6 separate regions of the Homo sapiens genome follow, and regions 2, 3, 4, 5 and 6 are each linked to region 1. The links are contacts of gene promoters, found by promoter capture Hi-C in blood cells and fetal thymus (Javierre and others, 2016). All regions are on one chromosome and are shown on one strand. Each heading gives the region's core, a stretch centred on a gene start or on the middle of the fragment in contact. The rest is flanking DNA. Distances are from core to core; before and after follow the strand shown. Region 1 holds the start of F3 (coagulation factor III, tissue factor). Region 2 overlaps ALG14 (ALG14 UDP-N-acetylglucosaminyltransferase subunit). Region 3 overlaps ALG14 (ALG14 UDP-N-acetylglucosaminyltransferase subunit). Region 4 holds the start of CNN3 (calponin 3). Region 5 overlaps SLC44A3 (solute carrier family 44 member 3). Region 6 overlaps SLC44A3 (solute carrier family 44 member 3).

Region 1 (3,085 bases), core at 429-2,928:
GAAATGTTGCAGGCCTAATAGAGTATGACACCGGCCAGCGAATTGCCAAGAATCCCTTCTTCTTCGTCATCTGTTAAATAATTTCATCCAGTAATCAGCTTTAAAGACATTCTTGTTCAGCATAGGACAGTAGAAACATCAAAGACCTTAATTTTCTTTTTCTGTACCCAGCTTACCTTATTTGAACAGTGTAGACTTGATTGACGGGTTTGGGTTCCCACTCCAAAATTGTCTTGAAATTAGTTGATTTCCAAGTTAAATTATATGCTGCCACAGTATTTGTAGTGCCTTTAAACAACAGAGAAACAGCTATTATTACATGCACTTCAGAGCACTCGAATGTATTGATGTATAAAACACCTTCCCACCTGACATCACCATAAACCTCACTTTTTATTTTTCAACCACAAAAGCTTCATTAGTGAATTATCAAGAGAAAAAGAATCTTCAAATTTTTTCTAGACCTAGAATTTCTTCATGACAAGATTCACCTTGTAATCCCAGGACACCGGCAAGGATCTTGACATTTTCGTTTGAAATTATTCATGGGCAAAGCCTTGTTATAACTTGACCGGGAAGAGCCCAGAGCCATCAGTGTGCCAGTCCAGGACTCAGCTCAGGAAGAGTCAGGTTCAGCCCGCCAGGAAGGGTTTTCAGTAAGTTATGGAAAAAGATAAATCCCACACGTGTGACAAGAGTTAGGACTGCATACAAATGAAAAAAGCCAAACTTCACTTTTTCCACTTTTATCTGAAATGTCGCTACACTGAAACTTCCACAGAGACCCACGGGGACGTGTGGCCTGTCACACCGTCGGCTGTATTGGATCAGGATTATTTCTTATGAAGGTCTGCTTTGCCAGTACGCAGCAGGTCCCAGTCTCTACGCCGTCCCGAACACCTCGTAGAAATACGGGGCATGCACAACGTTGTACCTGCTCCAATCTAAGCAGCAATCCAGCCCTTTTGGATTGCCTCTACCCAAACCTAGAACAAAGATGGCCAGGAAAAGACCAGGGACGCTCTTTATTAAGGGAAGATGCACATATAATGAAAGATAATATCCAAACCTCTGCACGCCAACACGTGCAGACGCAGGCACAAGTCCTATCATATTGAAGGTCGCAACTCACTGGGAAGCCCTTTCCCCAGAGTTAAAGCGGGAGCTAAAAGTCCGCTTATGCAACAACAGTCCAATTACTCGGACACCCCGAGCAAAACTCTCCAGCGGAAGGGGCAGCGGGGTCTGGGGCGCCAACTCCCTCCCTGCAACTCCCGCCGGCGCCCGACGGACTCGGTTCATTCAAGCCGGGCTGGGTGAGCGCAGCCGAGTCCCGTAGGCGCGGGGGACAACATGGGCGCCCCGGGGAACCAGGGCGAGCCCGCTGCCAGCCAGGACTGTCGCCTCCCTCCTGCGTGTGGCGCGCCCCGGGCTTCCAGGGGCTGGTGCCACTCACCTGAAGCGCCGGCCACCTGGGCGAAGACCCAGCCGAGCAGGAGCGTCCGAGCGACGGCGGTCTCGGGGCGCGGGACCCGGGGCCAGGCAGGGGTCTCCATGTCTACCAGTTGGCGGCGAGATCGAGCGGGTTCCGTGGCGCCCGTGGGGCTGGGGAGGTTGGGCTGAAGGCGCCCTGGGCCGGCCAGAGGGAGTGCGAGGGGGTGCGGGGAGCTCGCAGTCTTGGGGAGCCGGTGCCCCGCGCGCTATAAAGGGCCGGCGGCGCGCTCTCCCGCGCCTCTGCCCGCCCCCGGCGCCCGCCCCCGCCGCTCCTCCCGACTCCCCGCCCCCGGCCCGGGTCACTTGCCGTCGCGGTGGGCGGCCCCCGGCGAGTCCACACCCCTGCCCCGCCTCCTCCCGGTAGGAAACTCCGGGACCCTGCAAGGGATGACTCACCCCAGTGATTCAACCGCGCCACCGAGCGCGGAGCTGCCCTGGAGGACGCAGGCGGGTCTAGTTGCCCGGGTCCCCCAAGGCCCCCGGATTCACCCAGGCCCGCGACTCCGACGTGCAGCTTAGGTGGGTTGCAGGTCTATGGCAGGAAAGGGAGGGCGCCTTGGAAGAATTCTTCCCTTCCATTTGGTGATAAAGTGGGAGAGGCGGCATTTACAACATTTAATAGAAAGCACGGGCTCTGGGCTCCCCTCGGGCAGCGGAGGGCATTTCCCGGATGCTTTGCCCACCTGGGGCAGAAGCTCGGGACCTGCAGCGAAGTAAACGTGTGGCTGTGAGCAGGGCCCTCTCCCAGCCACGGTGGCTTCTTCTACCCCACGAAGGTCAAGAATACCTGGCCTGCCCACCTCGCGGGGCCCTTAGCGGGTCGCACAGGAGAAAGGCGGTGGGAATGCCGGTGTCAGCCACGGTGTGACCGGCTCGGCTCACAGGTCTGAGGGTCAGTTGGCTCAGGCATCGCCCGGTACGACCAGAGATAGTGACTGAGGAAGAGCAGCCTCACATCTGGCAGTTTGCCTCTGGGAGAATTCCAGCGTGACATCTGCAGCTCTGTGGTTCCAGAAAGGATGGTTCCCACATTGAAGAAGACATCTGTGGGACTGAGTTCCACCGAAATGCAGAGGAACCAAAAATGAAAATGAAAAATGTAACCAGAGTTGTGTGCCACTAGTTTTAAGCTTTGGTTTTTCTAAATTATTTTCTGGCTTCTCCTTCTGGGCTTTGCTGTAAACTTGCCAAGCATGAGAACAACTCTTCATCTATTGAGTGGCATTTTAAGCCATCCTGTCAAAGTATCTCCTGTCATTTTTATTATTATTACTCTATATTGCCTGCAAGACACGACTGGAGAATTCTTAGTGTAAGAATTGTTTGTTTCCTCTCTCCTTCTTTCCCACGTTTTCCCAGGGAAGTCAGTCTTGCATTTTAATGCATACTATATACATATCTCGTTTAGCTTACTGAACCACTTGTTTTAACAGAATAAAACTGTGCAAAATTTTAATTTTCCTCCTTTGCCTGAACTGAAATAGCACATCCAGGTTTAGCCCTTGTAGACTTTCCTTCCTCGAAGCAGAAAGTTGCCCTTGATGATTTCCTCTTTGAGCTCTCTGCCAGCTCTGAAACCCACAAAATTTAT
Region 2 (3,085 bases), core at 424-2,923, 500 kb after region 1:
CTCTTTCTTCTCTGTCTCTTTCTCTCTTCTTTCTTTCTTTGTAGTTCAATGTGTATATCCTGCAAAATTTACCTGTCTTCAATATAATCCAGTCTCTTTCACACTATTGGCCAAAGAAGTAAGACTCTTTCTTATTCTCTATCGTATAGAAGAAAACATATTTTAGTGAAACAGTGAAACAACCTTTCCATCTCAGCTTCCTAATTCCTGTAGAACAGGGCCATGTCCCATAGTACTCTGTATGCCCACAAGGCCTCCCAACGCTCCCTATATGAACTTGACTGATGTATAATCAAATATATGGTGGCAAGAGAGACAAGAAAAGTAGGATGCTGAAGAGTGAAAAAACAGAGAAATGGATTTTGTTCAGGCTTCTAGTGTCTGATAGTATATGAAACACTGAGTTAAATACTAACAGTATATGACAACTTGTAACTTTCAAAGTATGTTCCAGAATTACATCACTGTTAAAAACCACAAACATATCTGGCTTTAGATTTGTGAAAACTAAATAGGAGTTTATAGTGATTTAGATGGAAATAATTCCACCAAAGAATCCAGATGGCATCATAAACCACAACAGAGGAGATCAAGTGGTTGATGAAGTCATTCTTTGCTGTTACCACACACTGAAACATACAATACCTTTATTATTTAGTGAATGCCACACGACTGAAAAGTCCTGGAAACAAGACAAAGTTAAAATGGTAAAATTTCATTCAACCAAAAATGGTTTCAGCTTTCTTTCATAACTATTTAAAAATAATGCAATGTATATTTTTAAATGTATGTTGGATGGTTCAACTAATCATTATGAAATCAAGATGACCATAATTTACCACAAAATTTTTTTTTATATGTCCTTCAAGTACTTGGTAGATACTTTATGGTGCTGATGAAATGCCATGAAGTGTCATATAAGTGAGGGTGCTGTGGGCCCCTGATATAGTTTGGTTGTGTCCCCACCCAAGTCTCATCTTGAATTGTAGTTCCCATAACCCCCATGGGAAGGACCAAGTGGAGATAATTGAATCATGGGGGCAGTTCCCCTGTGATAGTGCGTTAGTTCTCATGAGTTCTGATGGTTTTATAAGGGGCTTCCCCCTTTGCTGGGCACTTATTCTCCCTCCTGTCACCCTGTGAAGAGGTGCCTTCCACCATGATTCCAAGTTTCCTGAGGCCTCCCCAGCCATGTGGAACTGTGAGTCAATTAAACCTCTTTTTTTTTTTTTTTTTTTTTTTTTGAGATGGAGTCTCACTCTGTTGCCCAGGTTGGGGTGCAGTGGTGCGATCTCGGCTCACTGCAACCTCCACAACCCAAATTCAAGCAATTCTCCAGCCTCAGCCTCTCAAGTAGTTGGGATTACAGGTATGCGCCACCATACCCGGCTAATTTTTGTAGTTTTAGTAGAGACGGGGTTTCACCATGTTGGCCAGGATGGTCTCAAACTCCTGATTTCAGGTGATCCGCCCACCTCGACCTCCCAAAGTGCTGGGATTAAGGGCGTGAGCCACCGCGCCTGGCCCAAGCTTCTTTTCTTTATAAATTACCCAGTCTCGGGCAGTTCTTTATAGCAGCATGAGAACAGACTAATACAGTCCCATGATGGGTCCTGCTGATAACCACTTACTTTGCATGAATCAAGCTCTCTGGACCTCAGTGTCCCACTGTGAAGCAAGGAGGGCTAGCTGAGATCAGGGATCCTTAACTAGCCACCATGATCCCACAGCTGGCTCAAGACTGGCTTGTCAAAGAGAAATGAGGCTGCACTCCAGCTCTGCCCCAGGGCCTGAAACCACCCCTCACTTTACCTCCAGAAGCTTCTCCTTGCCTGGTGGTCTGAGACTTCAGGGAAAAACAAAGTAGTTTGTTTCTGAAAAAATTATGGGATTCTGGCTCAAAAGATTTTTAAAGCCTTTTATAAATGCACATTTATTCTCTCTCAGCCTTTATTGACTCCTTCTTTTGACAATATCGCAATTTTCCTTTGGGTAACTCATTCCTCTCATATTCTCAGCCGGACGGTTTGGTGGTATTTGCCTCCTGTCCCCTTCACCCCTAACCCTGCCTCTAAGAGTAGGCCTGGAATGGCTGAAGCAACATGGAGGAATCATTCCTGGCTACAATGATTAGCTGAAAGATGGGAGTATAACCCCACTGGAGTACCATGAGGCAGGAGATGTTTGCTGGGGCTCTCTCTCCCATATGCTGTAAGAGATCCTCTTCTTCCTCATGAAGAGGAAGAGACATGAGGCCAGGAGGTGCTACAGGTTTTTGTTACCCTAATGAGAGAGCTTGGAGCTGCTGGAGGCAGCACTGTGGGAAGCCCGGTGGAGCTGCCACTGCAGAAGACAGAGCAGAGAGACAACTCTTGCTATAGGGATATGCCTGGGCAACCGGACCAAGCCTCGCCAGAAATAAGACTGAATTTTTCCTGTTTTGTAAGTTGACAAATTCCCTTTATTGTTCAAGCCAATTTTAAGCGTAGGTTTATGTCACTTGAAGTTGAAGCACCCTTCCTTTGTCCTTAAAATGGTAAGAAAATTGCATTCCTTTTCTTAAAATAAAATATATATATTAAAATCATGTATGAAACAATTGTTTACGACATTGAATTTCAGAGCTGTACTCTCTAAGCATGGATTCATTCACTTGTTTCTTCATTAAACTTTCAACAAGCACCTGCCAGGTGACAGGAACTGGGCTAGGGAAACAGAGGTGAATAAGACATTCACAAGGAACTCACTGCAGTCTATCAGGACAGCACAGGAAAAGTGATAATTGCAGTCAAAGGGATAACTATAATATGAGACAATTATTAAATATAATGTTAGCACCAAGTAAGAAGTAATAAACTGGACCAGGTGCGGTGGTTCACACCTGTAATCCCAGCACTTTGGGAGGCCAAGATACGTGGATTGCCTGAAGGTCAAGAGTTTGAAACCTGCTTGGCCAACATGGTGAAACCCTGTCTCTACTAAAAATACAAAAAATTGGCCACGCGCGGTGGCTTACGCCTGTAATGCCTGTAATCCCAGCACTTTGGGAGGCCGAGGTGTTTGGATCACCTGAGGTCAGGAGTTT
Region 3 (3,085 bases), core at 323-2,822, 470 kb after region 1:
ACGCCCAGCTAATTTTTTGTATTTTTAGTAGAGATGGGGTTTCACCATATTGGCCAGGCTGGTCTCAAACTCCTGACCTTGTGACCCACCCTCCTCAGCCTCCCAAAGTGTTGGGATTACAGGCGTGAGCCAACGTGCCTGGCCAGTTTCCTGTTCTTTTTAATAAAAATACAGCAACCAGGATCTGGATATCTACAATGTTTTGCCAACAACTAAAACAAACAACACCCCAAATCTGTACTGACTCTGCAGACAAAAGAGGTCAAACAATTACTTCAGAGTCTCAAAATTAATTTATAGGCCTAGTGAGAAAACTAGACTAGTCTAGTAGACTAGACTCCAGCTTGGATATTTTACTGTTCTCAGGTTCCAGTGAGATAAAATGCTTCAGCATATATTTTTAGTCATGGGTTATTTTTATTTTATTAGCATTGCCTTTAAATCACTTTTTTCTTAAAAAAAAAAAAAAACCCTTCCAGCATTTCCAAATTTATGATTCCCCACTTGAATTATGCAATTCCATTATGAAGCAATGGTCTATAGTTTACCCTTTATCCAACTTTTATCATTTTTTATTTAGAATCATTCCCAGAAATACAAATTAGCTGATTACTGAACAAGTTCTAATTACTCCCCAGAGACCATGGGAGCTTAGGGTTTCAGTACAGCATTGTTCACTGTTTGGCTGTGAAACAGACTTCCTCCTCTGGTGACTGATCTGTTATTGATTTAAGAACTGACCTAAAGGGCTATTTGTTCTGGGCGCTTTGAAGAGCGTTTGCTTCCCCTGACTTTCAGAACTATTCTGTTGGACATCCTGAAGCCTTAGGCCATAATCTTTACTATGTAGTTTGTGCAGCCTGGAATAATGGAATAGTGGCTAATTAACCTGTTCTCACCCCCAAAATAGGGCCTGTGATTTAAAACACCTCTAAAAAATCACACTGATGCTTCAGTCTGGAACCCTGAGGCAGGTCAATTCTGTTCCCAGTCCAGATCATCCTTCCTTCTTAGCCTCAGACTTGGGGCCATGGCTGGATTCTAGATTACAAACTCTTCTGAGCACAAATTGCCATCTCCATTTCCCATGGTGCCTAGCTCTAGTCTCAGCTCACAGCAGTTACTCAATACAAAATAAAAACAAATTTGTAAATAATTTTTTGAATTATCTACAAATAGTTAAAATTACATGTAAACTTATAATTACAATTATTTACAAATTGATTTATAAATAATTTTTATTTGTAAATAAAAAGCTTATAACAAAATTATGGCTAAATAACTTCAAAGAATAGCTTTGACAAGTAGGTTTTATGATCCCAGAGCAATGACATCAGAAAGTCTTGCACCATATTAATAGTTTCAGGCTATCTTAAGAAATAAAAAGTAATTCAATGAATAGCATTTTGTTTAAGAATTAAGTGAGCATGTTGATGGAATGGCAGCAGAAAAAGACTCGAGTTCCTAAGGCTTCATTATGATTCCTAACCCTTTGCAATCTGAAGAGAGCGCTATACAGTTTTAAACTTGCCACGGCACTCAGAATAGGGGAGGCCTAAGTCCCCCTTCTTTGATAACAAAGAGGGCAGAACACACCTGATAGTGGGTTGGGAGCAAGTCAGGGTAATAAAGGTGAGCCAAGAAGCAGTTCAAGGGGCTTGTGAATGCCATTCACCTCTCAGTGGGATCCAGGAGGGATCAGAGGGTGTTAGCTGAGGACGAGATATTTAACCGAGAGAGATGGAGATCTGCAGGGAGCTGGGACTGGGTGCTGCTAATTTCCATCTGGTAGAACTAGCGTGTTCCAGTTCCTTACTATTCAGTTATTAATCAAAGACCTCTCCAAGCACCTGACACACTGCTAAGCTCCACAGGGATAATAAAGCCAGAAAGCTTGGTTTTTGACTCTTAAAGTACTCACAATCTAATTTGGGGAGGGAGAAAATTCAGCAGAAGTTAAATGACTAGAGAACAATTAAATGCTAAGCTCTAAGTTCAAGAGGAGTTCACAGGAGGGCAAGATCTGGATGGAGTAAAGGTGCAAGACAAAAAGCCTCAGAAGAAGCCTCAAGAAAATGAGGAACCAAACTGGGGAACTAAGGTTGTTTGTAAATCAGGTGCATGTGGATAAGCCCTTCTTGAGAGGGGCGGGTTTGGACGGATGTCCTTGAATGGTGGTCCAGCAGGACAGAGCTGAAATTCATTAGTAAATCCTGACACACTGTTTTTGGAAGCGATGGAGTCTGTGATGAAAATATAAGAGGGCTGGAAAACAAAGAAGACAGAAGCAAATAATCCTTGGTTGTTTCCATGCCTGAAGAGGCTCACTGTGGCATGAAAATCAACATGAAAACAGTCAGAATACCATAGCATCCAAACTGGGCATTGTGTAGACATTCCGTGGTCTAAGTTTTAAAACATTTATTAACTCCTTATTAGCCTCTTGATTTCTGGAAGAGAATATTTAACTTAATGACAAAAGAGGAGAAAGATCCAGCAACCTACCATGGGGGCTTCTTATGCATGAATGTTCACACAAGACTATGAAGTAGATATCATGGTCCCTGTTCTACAGATGAGGAAAAGGAAGTTTATGGAGAATAAACAGCTCACCTAAATTTGTCCAAATGGTAGAGTGGCAGACCTAGATTTTAAACCCTGGTATGCATGTTGCCCAAGCCCATTTTCTCTATCCATGTAGACAGCACCTGATACCCTTCGAGAGAAGAGTCTATGATGTCTCATTTGTTGTGTGGTCAGAGAGCTGAACCTGGAGCTGGGAGTGACAAGAACTGTTTTTTTTTTATTCATGCTTTCCTATTAGTTCTAAGACTTTGGACAAGGCACTCCCTTCTTTTGGTTCTATTATCTAAACTTTAAAAATAGGGTATATAATTAAATTGTTGGTAAGGTATCATCTGTGTAAGTTTGTAATTCTAAGTGTACAAATGCCTTCTCCATCAGAGAATGACCATTGAATAATATGACTGCTCTAATAAAAAGAGGAAAGGGAATATGCAGACACATGCTGATTTTTATATTTAGAAACCCACCAAGATATAAATATAAATTTAGAAATCTGCCA
Region 4 (3,085 bases), core at 361-2,860, 390 kb after region 1:
CTAAACATTTCAACTTTAGATACATAGACTAAAATCAACTCCTTGCTTCAAAGACAGTATGATGTGCAGACTAACAGCGGGAGACAAGAGCCACAACTCTCCCTTGGGGTTTGACAACGGTGCGCTTCATTACCTCTTTACATAATTCGCTTCACACCGCCTACCCCCGCAGCCCCGGGATGTTCCAGCTCTGACAATGCCAGTGCCTTCCACCAGCGGTCGGACGGTGCGGTGGCAATCCTGACATGCTTGGGCTCCCGGGAGGTTAATGGGAATTAAACCACAGGCAGCCCTCCTTTGTGGCGCTTTGGCCAGAACAGCAGAAAGGAGACAATGAGCGTTCTGTGCACAGTTCCGCGCCGATTGGCTGGTCTCTCCCCCCAGAAACCCCTGATGTCATGGGCTTGGAATGCAGGGAGGGAGGAAGGAAGGAGAGGATTTGGGGAGGGGGACGCCTCTCATCTCTTTCCCAGGCCAAAAGTCCTAAAGATAAACCTAACGCATTCTTGGGCTCAGTGGCAAAGCTGAGCGTCACCAAATCCCAATCGCTCCAAACTATAAGCCGCCTCAGCAAACAAGCCCCAAACAAAAGCAACCCACAAAAATAATCCTTTATGTCGTGAAAGTCTAATGTACTTCAAACTTCTCAGTGTTTCATAAAAAGTCTCAAGCCTAAGCAGATATCACTCGCACAGTGGCGCGCTCAGGCTTTGTCTCCATTTCCCGCAAAAGCAACAGCAGAAGCAGCAGCAGCAATCTGCCTCCAAATGCCTCCCAGGCACCGAGATCGGAGACTGTGATGGGTCCCGGACCGGCTTCCGTTCCTCGGGGCCCCTGGGGTCGGCGGGACATTAGGCGGTCTCTCTCCCCGTGGGGAGGCGCGGAGTCCGCCAGCACCCGGGGCCCGGGCAGATGGCGGGGGCTGCGGCAGCGGCTCGCCGGGTCCCTGGCCGCGCAGACGGGCTCCGCCTAAGGGCGAGTGGCCACGCAGGAGCGCCCCCTTCCCGGAGGGCGCGTTCTGCAGTCACCAAACGGCCCCCGAGACCCCCGCAGCCGGAAAGGCTGGCGCCGCGGGACTCCAGGCGCCCGGGAACCCACCGCCAGCCACTAGTCCTGTCCCACGGCGCGGGAACAAAGCCAGGCGGGTGCCCGGGAGCCGGCCCCGCAAGCCCGGGGACTGGACGCGACCGGGACAGGCAGAGACGCTCGCGCCGCCTCGACGGCCCCTCTCCAGGAAAACGGTGAGCCACAGCGCGAAGAGCAAACGAAGCACGGCCCAGCGCCAGGCCAGCCCAAGGGTGCCCCGGGGGCCCCCGCGCCCGCCCGAGCCAGGCGTACCTTGTTCTTGACTTCGGCCGAGAGCCCATAGGAAGGGCCCTTGTTGAAGTGGGTCATGGTGGTTCGGGCGGCGGGAAGAGACAGCGCTGGGGTCCGGGGTCTCTCGCACTTCGCTTCCCCGCTCCTGGCCCCGAGGAGTGGCCGCCGCGGGGGATGCTCGAACTCCCTCCTCTGGGAGGCGCAGGAGACGGCCGCGGGGCGCGGGCGGTGCCTGGGCGACTGGGTCCAACTGGGTGCTACAGAGCCTCGAGCTCCGCTGCGAAGCACCCGGCTGCCTCGCTCGCCGCCCGCACCTCGGTTCCCCACAGGCCGCCCCCGCCTCCGCCTGGGCCTTCGAGGATTGGCCGCCGGGCCCGACCAATGGAGGGCCGCCTCCTCCCGCCTCTGCGCCGAGGGGCGGTGCGGCCAATTGAAGGGCCGCGGGGGCCGCTTTCCCTCCCGCTCCCTCCCCGCGAGGTCCCCGGCCCCCGCCCCAGCCCTCACGCCACCGGGGCCGGCGGCTAGGCGGCCCCGCCCCCGGGCTAGGCAGGGCGCCTGGGGGCTTCCCAGCCACAGGCCATTCACGTCAACCTCCAGGCATCCTCCGCGGCGGGCCGGACCGGGCCGGCGGAGGGGAGCGGAAGCCCACCGGGGCTGGCCCGCCGCTGACCCGCCGCCTCCGTCTGCCTCCTCCCGGGCTCTGGGCCCAGCGCGCCCAGATGCCGGGCAGGACCCCTCCGCCCGCTGCTGGAACACCAATAGCAGCGTTGGAGCCTCTGGGCCGGAGGAACTGGGGCCTCCACCGACACCTGCTTCTTCCCTCACCTCGCAGCCTTCCACACCTGTTGATCTGACCTCTGCCCCGCTGCCGCCCAGGAGTAACCTAAGGCTTTTGGCCTGATTCGAGCTCACTCCGTCTAAACCTCTAAATGCGGTGCGAAAAAATCCTGGGGAATGTGCCATGCAAAGCCTGGGCATTTCAAGTGCTTTTCTGGATTCGCATCAACTCCTCTTTACAGGCATCTTTATCCGGAATTCAGCTCGTCCCAAACCCCACGTGGTGTAGCTCTGCTTGTGTTTTTGAATCCCGGGGCCTCTTTGAATCAGAAGCCCTTTGTATAGAGATAAGTATCCTTTAGGCCAGAATCAGCCTCCATTTTTTTCGCAGTCCCATTTCCTACCCGTAATACTTTCTTCTGATTTTAAAGCCATTTGATAGAGAAGGGACAGGGAACAGAACCTTCGCCCCCCGCCTGAGCAGCTGGTAGACTAGATATCTTCCAAACATTATCTCATTTACTTCCCTGGAGTTACAAATAGGTAGATTTCATGTCCGTTGAGGGGTGAGAAAGCTGAAACTTTGAGACTTAAGAATCCTGGCCGAGGTCAGCCTCCTCCGAAGCTTCATCTCTTGCCACCACTTTCTGGTGCACACCTAGGACAGATTTCAATCCCTGAGATCCCAGGATGAAACCTATGTTTGCCAAATACCAGCTACTGTGCCAGAAGAGATCATGGAACCAGGTGTGGAAAGCTGCTTGAGAAGAGGAGCCAAAACATCATAGTTGAACCGTCCTGGAATAGAAGTGAGTAAGGTGAACCAGGTGTGGTGGCTCATGCCTGTAATCCTAGCACTTTGGGAGACCGAGGTGGGAGGATTGCTTGAGGCCTGGAGTTCAGGAACATCCTGGGCAACATAGCAAGATCCTGTCTCTACAAAAAATCCAAAGTTTTTTTAAATTAAAAAAAAAAAGTGAGTAAGGCAGCT
Region 5 (3,085 bases), core at 278-2,777, 320 kb after region 1:
CCTCAAGATTTTTCCTAATCTTCAAAGTTCACAATTCTTCGTATCCTTTTCTGGCCTGCACTCAGGGTGAGGATTAAATATAGCCAGGGTGCATTCATCTTTGTCATTCATTTATGCACTACGAGGGCTGAAGAGTTCATACAAATACCATCAGGTACCAGGATATGGGCAATCTGTAGAATTTACTTTTTACAACCATTTGCTTGAAGAAGGATCAACTGAGAGCCATAAAGGTGGTGTTAGGGATGTGATAGGAAGGAGCTAGAACCCTTCAGGGTGGTGGAGGGACACTTGAGGTGTGACTTCATCATCATTTTCAAATATACAAAAGAGGGTTTCCAGCTGCTCTATATCTACAGATGGAGAAGAGGAAATGGATTCATAGCAGAGCCTAAGGAATTTAGGTAGAGATAGATGAATTTCCTAACCTAGCAAGAGTTACCCAGGCCAGCTAAAGAATCCTCTTCTTTCTAATAAAGACGATTTTCATTTTCTGTAGAATAGGAAAGAAACATACAACCTTCTCAGCCCTCCAAACCCCATCTTGCAGTGATTTTGTTGTAAGAAATACTGGAAGAGACATGGTCTCTACAGGGACCACACAGTCCTTTGCTGGGACCAGCTTTACGTTGGAGGCCATTTGTCCCATGCAGCCCACACCTAGTCCAGGAGCCTCAGCACAAAATTAATTCTCCATAATGTCAGAAGAGTTTTTAGTGAGCACGAGGCTGGATCTAACTAGAGCCAAAGCTTGTCTCTAGGACCATGATGCGGCTTGCCTGGCTGTATGCACTCTGTTGTCTGATGGGAGTAGAAATTACAAAACAGTACTTTGTACCATGACCCAAAGGTGTTAGAGGACTTGGATGGATGGGACCATTAAACCCTTTGCCCCACAGCTTGGATTGATGTGGTATTTTGGGCAACTGGCTTCGTTGTTCTGGGAGCCAGGCACCATTAGCACTCAAAGCAGCCACACATCCAAAGGAAGGGGGAAGCTGGGCTTCATGGGGCATATGCTAGAGTCGCCTTACCCTCTAACACTGCCCGTGTCTTCCTTATTGCCACTACCCACAGAATTGGGGTGGATGTGGTCCAGTGGGAAGATCTAGAGAGAGATGAGGAAGGCTGACTGGGGGCCCAGTCCTCCCCAGCCTCCTAATACACTCATCGCTGGGTTGCCCCATATGCTCAACACTGGAATGTTGTCCCCCAGGTCAATTCTTAAAATATGAATAAGTCCAGAGGTAAGTATTATATTTAGCATCACTGGGTGTGTCAGATCCTCTTCCTGAAGGCAGGTTTGGCTGGTTGTGAGGGAGACAGAGCTGGAGGCACTAGCCCCACACACAGCAGGGGAGAGGTGGTAGGATGACGTTACCTTTGAACATGGAAATGAGTCTGAGACTAGGTGGGGGCCTCAGAGACACACCACTTCATTAGCCTTTTTTTTCTGTAGGGCTGTTTCTAGTTTTGAGGGCAGGTATTGAGTGACTCCTGGCTCCAAGAGCTGGCTTGGGTTGAAAGGGCCCTCTTTTTAAGTTCCGTCTCCCATCACGTGATAACCCAGCTTCTGGAACCTCTGCATCTTCTTCCAGCCAAGCCAGGCAGAGCCTCCAGCCATAACCAGGATGTGTTACAGACTAGGGAAGCTGAGGCAGTGCAGGTACTCCTCTGCCTGAAGTGGTTAACCCCATCACAGTGAAACCTCAGAAAGCTGATGCCTAACCCCAAACTCTAATACCTGGAGGGCTAACCCCAAGGCCCTCATTCACAGAGGCCTATGAATCATGTGTTTCCCTACCAGATGGAAAGCAGGTGTTGTCCTCTTCTCCCTGCCTCCCCTCTTGAGCACCATAATAAGTTCTAAGGCACACAAATCTCCTCAATGGAAAAGTAAACGTTCTTCCTTAAAAAAAAAGAAAAATGAGGGAAGGGAAAAAAAAGTGTGTCAGATTTTCCTGGCCTACACTACTCTTCTAGTTTATCAGATCTAAATGAATTCCTATTAGCAATAGCTTCCGTGGTTTTTCCTACTTTAAATAACACTGTGTTGAAACACACATCCTTTTTTTTTGTGGGACAACTGGGTTGCAGTTTTTCAGCTCCCAATATTACTTTCATGTTCTCTTTTTCTTCCTGGCTGATTTGAGTAACAGCAAAATGCAGCCATTGCCAACTCTTGAAACATTTCTGGCTGCCTTCCTTTTCCTCTCTCAAAACCTAGGCTGCTGTCAAAACCTTAATTCATAGTGACTTATTAGCAACCAGAGCAAGTTGTAGAATAATCCATTATAAAGAAACCAAGCTTCACTTGGAATCTGTGAAGTTGCTTCTCAGAAAGACCTTATTTTCTAGAACTGGCTTCAGCGGGAATTCAAAGGGTCACCCGTGGGGTGGCATCAGCCCCCACTCCTTTGTTTTATCTTTCAGGGTTAGGGGAGAGTGATGGCTGTGCCCATTCTGTTCTTTCTCACTTTTTTTTCCCTGCCTGTGAAACTGACTTGTACACATTCTTGGGAGCTGCGTCATGACAAGTCCCGTAAATGATTCACACTGAAGTGACCTTTAAAGAGCAGAGTAGAAACCAGCAGGATTTGGGGAGCCTAGAGCTGTGTAGGAGCCAAGCACCCAGGGCTTTCTGTCCCTTTCCTGTAAGTGGGAGCTCACTATTACCTCTCTGGCCACTGATCCTGGTCATGTGATTTGGTGATGATTTTTAATCACCAGGTGAATGCTGGCAATATTTATGTATACTCCTGTGTAAGTTAAACCTTGGAGATTGTGCCGCAATTAAAATTCTGAAAGTGAAAATGAGATGAATAGGCACCCTAAAGGGTTGGTGGATGGGCTCTGCATTATGAAGAGGGAAACTTTTTTAACTCATCAATTTTTTTAAATTTTTTCTGTTTTATTTGTAGCATTAAGTGGCACCAAAACGAATTAAATTAATACAAGAAACAATTTAACCGAAGCTACCAAGGAGTATAAAAAGTTCGCCAAATGCTTATTATGTCACAACTTTCTAAGTTGTTAGTACCACAGATGATTGGAACCAGAGAGCTTTTGCTGCTTTATAAAAAGT
Region 6 (3,085 bases), core at 233-2,732, 300 kb after region 1:
GCCCCTGAGATGAGCTTTCCAATACCGTGATCCTGTATCCATAACGTTAAAAGAGAATCCCAGTACCCACTGGGAGCATTTTAAAGGATTTCTTCTGAATGCGCACCTCACCCATTGGCACGTGGGTGCCCACAGTTGTCATGTAAAGGTTCTGACCAGCCAGAAGACACACAGGCCTGCATGGAAGCAGAGTCCTGGAGACCCTGTACTGTGCCCATATTTCCCTCCCGGTTGCTGGATTGTGGATCTCACCAGCAGTTGTTGGGAAAGAGGTCCGAGGGACAAGGGCACGCAGGAGGCTCAAGGCAGCAGCCATTTACCAACTGGTGTGGGGTACAATCAGGTGTCACTTAATGACAGGAAGGGATGTGTTCTGAGAAATGCATCACTCAGCAATTTCCTCATTGTGTGAACATCACAGGGTGCACTTACACAAACCTAGATGGTAGAGCCTACTACACACCCAGGCACATGGTATAACCTATTACTCCTAGGCTACGAACCTGCACAGCATGCTACTGTACAGAATACGGTTGGCAGCTGTAACAGAATGGTCAGTATTTGTGTATCTAAACACATCTAAGCACAGAAAAGTACAGTATTATTAATCTCATGAACCACCATCATATATGCAGTCCATTGTTGATCAAAATGTCATCATGCAGTGGATGACTATATTTTAATTTTTAAAAACTGATGTGATTGTCATGTTTCTTTCCCCTGAGTCATCAGCTCTGCCCTCAGCAACTTAGAGCCCTGTAGCCCTGTGTCGGAGGACAGGCACAATGACTTCTGAGGGTTGTTTCTTCCTGTCCACTCCAACCTTCCTATAGTTACTGTGGATATGGCATAAGGTGGTATTTCGTACCTAAATGTGGAGTACTTGCAATGTCAGGGCATCTTCCAAATGAGCTTCTGACTTCCATGATTCCCACAGGCCGTGTAAATTTTCCTGGTTTTGTGGGTGAGCAGCCAATATCCAGGCTCCACAGGAGTTATCACCACCAGAGCTTGCTTAAAACATTTAGACAGTGAGCTCTGGCATTGTCCCTCTCACCATCCTGTCCATGGGGTTTTCCTCCTGCTCGCATCCAGACCCAACCTGTGGGTTAGGTGCCTGTGTTCTGGGGTCACCATCCTGGGTCTCCCAAAACAAGCATCATCCCAGAACTTGTGGGTCCTCTATGGGTTGCCCTGGCTCTGCCCAGCTTCTCCAGAGGGCAGCAGTTGCTTGTAGGGTCCGGGTATTTGGGACCCACTGCCAGAGCAGTGCCACGCGGCCGGTGGGCAGTGGCTGGACTTCCTGTGTGATTCTGTGTGCTGGGGAAAGGTTACCTCATGGCGTGTGCCCTGAGCTCTGCTACTGTTCTCTTTTCTAGTTGTCTGCGGTGTTTTATGGTGGCTGTATTATGACTATACCAACGACCTCAGCATAGAATTGGACACAGAAAGGGAAAATATGAAGTGCGTGCTGGGGTTTGCTATCGTATCCACAGGCATCACGGTAAGAAATGCTCTTCTAGCAGTAGGTCAGGTAGCCAGCCAGGACTCTGAAATCCAAATCATTGAATTCTAGCCAAAAACAACTATAATTTGTTTTTCTTTTGATTTAGAATGTGCCTTCTTTGGATTTGAGATACCTGTATAGGGATAATTCAAAACTCTTCAAAAATAAGAAAAAAAGGTTTTAGTTCTTCCCAAGTCATTTCTGCCACCTCCCAGAGACTACTGTGTTATCCTTGCTGTTGCACTGTTCTCAGCCCCAAGGGGCTACAAGGTGGGCATGGTGGGTGGGCGGAGGCAGGCTTACGGCAGTTCCCATTCCCTGTTTGTGAGGTGCGGCTCCCCTTTGCCAGTGTATGCTCAGCTTCCGCTGCCCTCTAGCACACAGAGCCCTTTGTTTCCAAACCCGCTGGCCACTGGGTTATTTTGGTGTTCAGAGAACTTGCTGCCTCCTCAGTGAACTCTCTAGCTGAAAACAGGCTGACTTAGAATATTGAGGGAGCAGGTATTAGTTACTGGTGGTGGGTGGTTGGCAACCAAATGTCATTCAGGACCCTCTCCAGGGGCCGTTAGGAAGGCTCAAATCACAAGGCCCTGGGGCGGACCCCACACTGGCTTCAGGTCCCCCAGAGTCGTCGTTGCTGGTGTGTTGCTTACTGACTGTTCTGTGGAGCAGCTGCAGCCAGGGGTTTCCACAAGCCCATTGAATCTTGCAGCAAATGCAGATTCTCACACCAACAAAATTCTCTCATAGGAAATCCTTCTATTCTCATATTTGGTAGTTTTCACATTTTCTCCTTTCCACGGTGAGGTTTTGGGTTTGTGATCTTCACATAAAATGTGCCAGGGAGTAAGGGTACAATAAAGTAAAGCACCTGGTTGCTCTCGCCTCAGGCAGGGACCAGACCAGACACTCAACAGAGTCTGCAGAGGAGGCTGGAGATGAAAGGGCTTCCCCATTCCCCAGGCTGGGCATAGGGGAAGAGGAGCAGGGCTGGGGGCTGGGGAGGGTCCAGTTCCTCCGTCTACCCTCCACAGGGCTCCCTTTTTGTTTGTACACTGCACCATTTATGCCACCCAGATTTCAGGGCCGGGGCAAGGTTAGGGAGAGGGGAGGCCATGTGAGCAGGGAGGCTGTTTTCACCTGGGTCCATGAGTTCTGCACAGGGGCTACTCTATAAGGCAGAATTGAGTCCCAGCTCACCTCCCGTTCATTTGTTGTGAGTTCTTACCAATTCCCGGTTGCTAGATGAGCTAGTTCACTCATCCTCAGAAAAGCCCAGATGGAAGTTCCTCCTCAGCCTTTACAACTGAAGGGTCTCCTCTGGGTGTCTTGCGGGGCCTCTCCTGACACCTCTCCCTGCATGGTCAGGAGGCTGTGCTCCCAGATCCTGGAGCAGCTTCTGCAGTTTATCCACTGTCACTGTCTTTCCTCCACTTGACTGTTGACGGCAGAAACGCTCCAGCAAAGCTGGAAGAGAAAGAGCATCTCAGGCCAAGGGCACAGCATGCATGAGGTCACATGGGCAGGGGTGTGACTTGCAGGAAGTTCCCTTGATGGAAGCCTGAGATGCAGGTGCAG

The links. The method cuts DNA at HindIII sites, captures the fragments that hold promoters and counts their contacts. A CHiCAGO score of 5 or more calls a contact.
Region 2: a fragment that was not itself captured here is called in contact with the fragment with the promoter of F3 in region 1 in 1 of 17 cell types (endothelial precursors); the score reaches 5.5 in endothelial precursors.
Region 3: a contact is called between a fragment that was not itself captured here and the fragment with the promoter of F3 in region 1, in 1 of 17 cell types (endothelial precursors). The highest score is 5.4, in endothelial precursors.
Region 4: a contact is called between the fragment with the promoter of CNN3 here and the fragment with the promoter of F3 in region 1, in 2 of 17 cell types (endothelial precursors and erythroblasts). The highest score is 8.0, in endothelial precursors.
Region 5: a contact is called between a fragment that was not itself captured here and the fragment with the promoter of F3 in region 1, in 1 of 17 cell types (endothelial precursors). The highest score is 6.8, in endothelial precursors.
Region 6: a contact is called between a fragment that was not itself captured here and the fragment with the promoter of F3 in region 1, in 1 of 17 cell types (monocytes). The highest score is 5.6, in monocytes.

What each region holds. Positions count from the first base shown.
Region 1 is chr1:94,540,081-94,543,165 of GRCh38, forward strand. F3 (coagulation factor III, tissue factor) reads right to left here and starts at 1,679. Exons shown (of 6, transcript NM_001993.5): 1 at 1,457-1,679; 2 at 177-288. The coding sequence starts at 1,556. It overlaps LOC124904223 (a long non-coding RNA gene), which reads left to right and starts at 1,894. Exons shown (of 2, transcript XR_007066234.1): 1 at 1,894-3,085. RefSeq lists a silencer at 1,599-1,878. The HindIII fragment of the contact is 2,211 bases long and covers 412-2,622 here.
Region 2 is chr1:95,035,201-95,038,285 of GRCh38, forward strand. All of the region lies in intron 2 of ALG14 (ALG14 UDP-N-acetylglucosaminyltransferase subunit), which reads right to left. Among named protein-coding and RNA genes, the nearest start is that of ALG14-AS1, 25 kb to the right of the region's middle. The HindIII fragment of the contact is 291 bases long and covers 1,529-1,819 here.
Region 3 is chr1:95,013,475-95,016,559 of GRCh38, forward strand. All of the region lies in intron 3 of ALG14 (ALG14 UDP-N-acetylglucosaminyltransferase subunit), which reads right to left. Among named protein-coding and RNA genes, the nearest start is that of ALG14-AS1, 47 kb to the right of the region's middle. The HindIII fragment of the contact is 637 bases long and covers 1,255-1,891 here.
Region 4 is chr1:94,925,500-94,928,584 of GRCh38, forward strand. CNN3 (calponin 3) reads right to left here and starts at 1,611. Exons shown (of 7, transcript NM_001839.5): 1 at 1,339-1,611. The coding sequence starts at 1,395. CNN3-DT (CNN3 divergent transcript) reads left to right here and starts at 861. Exons shown (of 3, transcript NR_168377.1): 1 at 861-1,241. RefSeq lists silencers at 719-1,148, 1,249-2,128. The HindIII fragment of the contact is 4,662 bases long and covers 1-2,717 here.
Region 5 is chr1:94,861,624-94,864,708 of GRCh38, forward strand. All of the region lies in intron 10 of SLC44A3 (solute carrier family 44 member 3), which reads left to right. Among named protein-coding and RNA genes, the nearest start is that of SLC44A3, 43 kb to the left of the region's middle. The HindIII fragment of the contact is 1,558 bases long and covers 749-2,306 here.
Region 6 is chr1:94,840,621-94,843,705 of GRCh38, forward strand. It overlaps SLC44A3 (solute carrier family 44 member 3), which reads left to right. Exons shown (of 15, transcript NM_001114106.3): 8 at 1,380-1,504. Among named protein-coding and RNA genes, the nearest start is that of SLC44A3, 22 kb to the left of the region's middle. The HindIII fragment of the contact is 8,969 bases long and covers 1-3,085 here.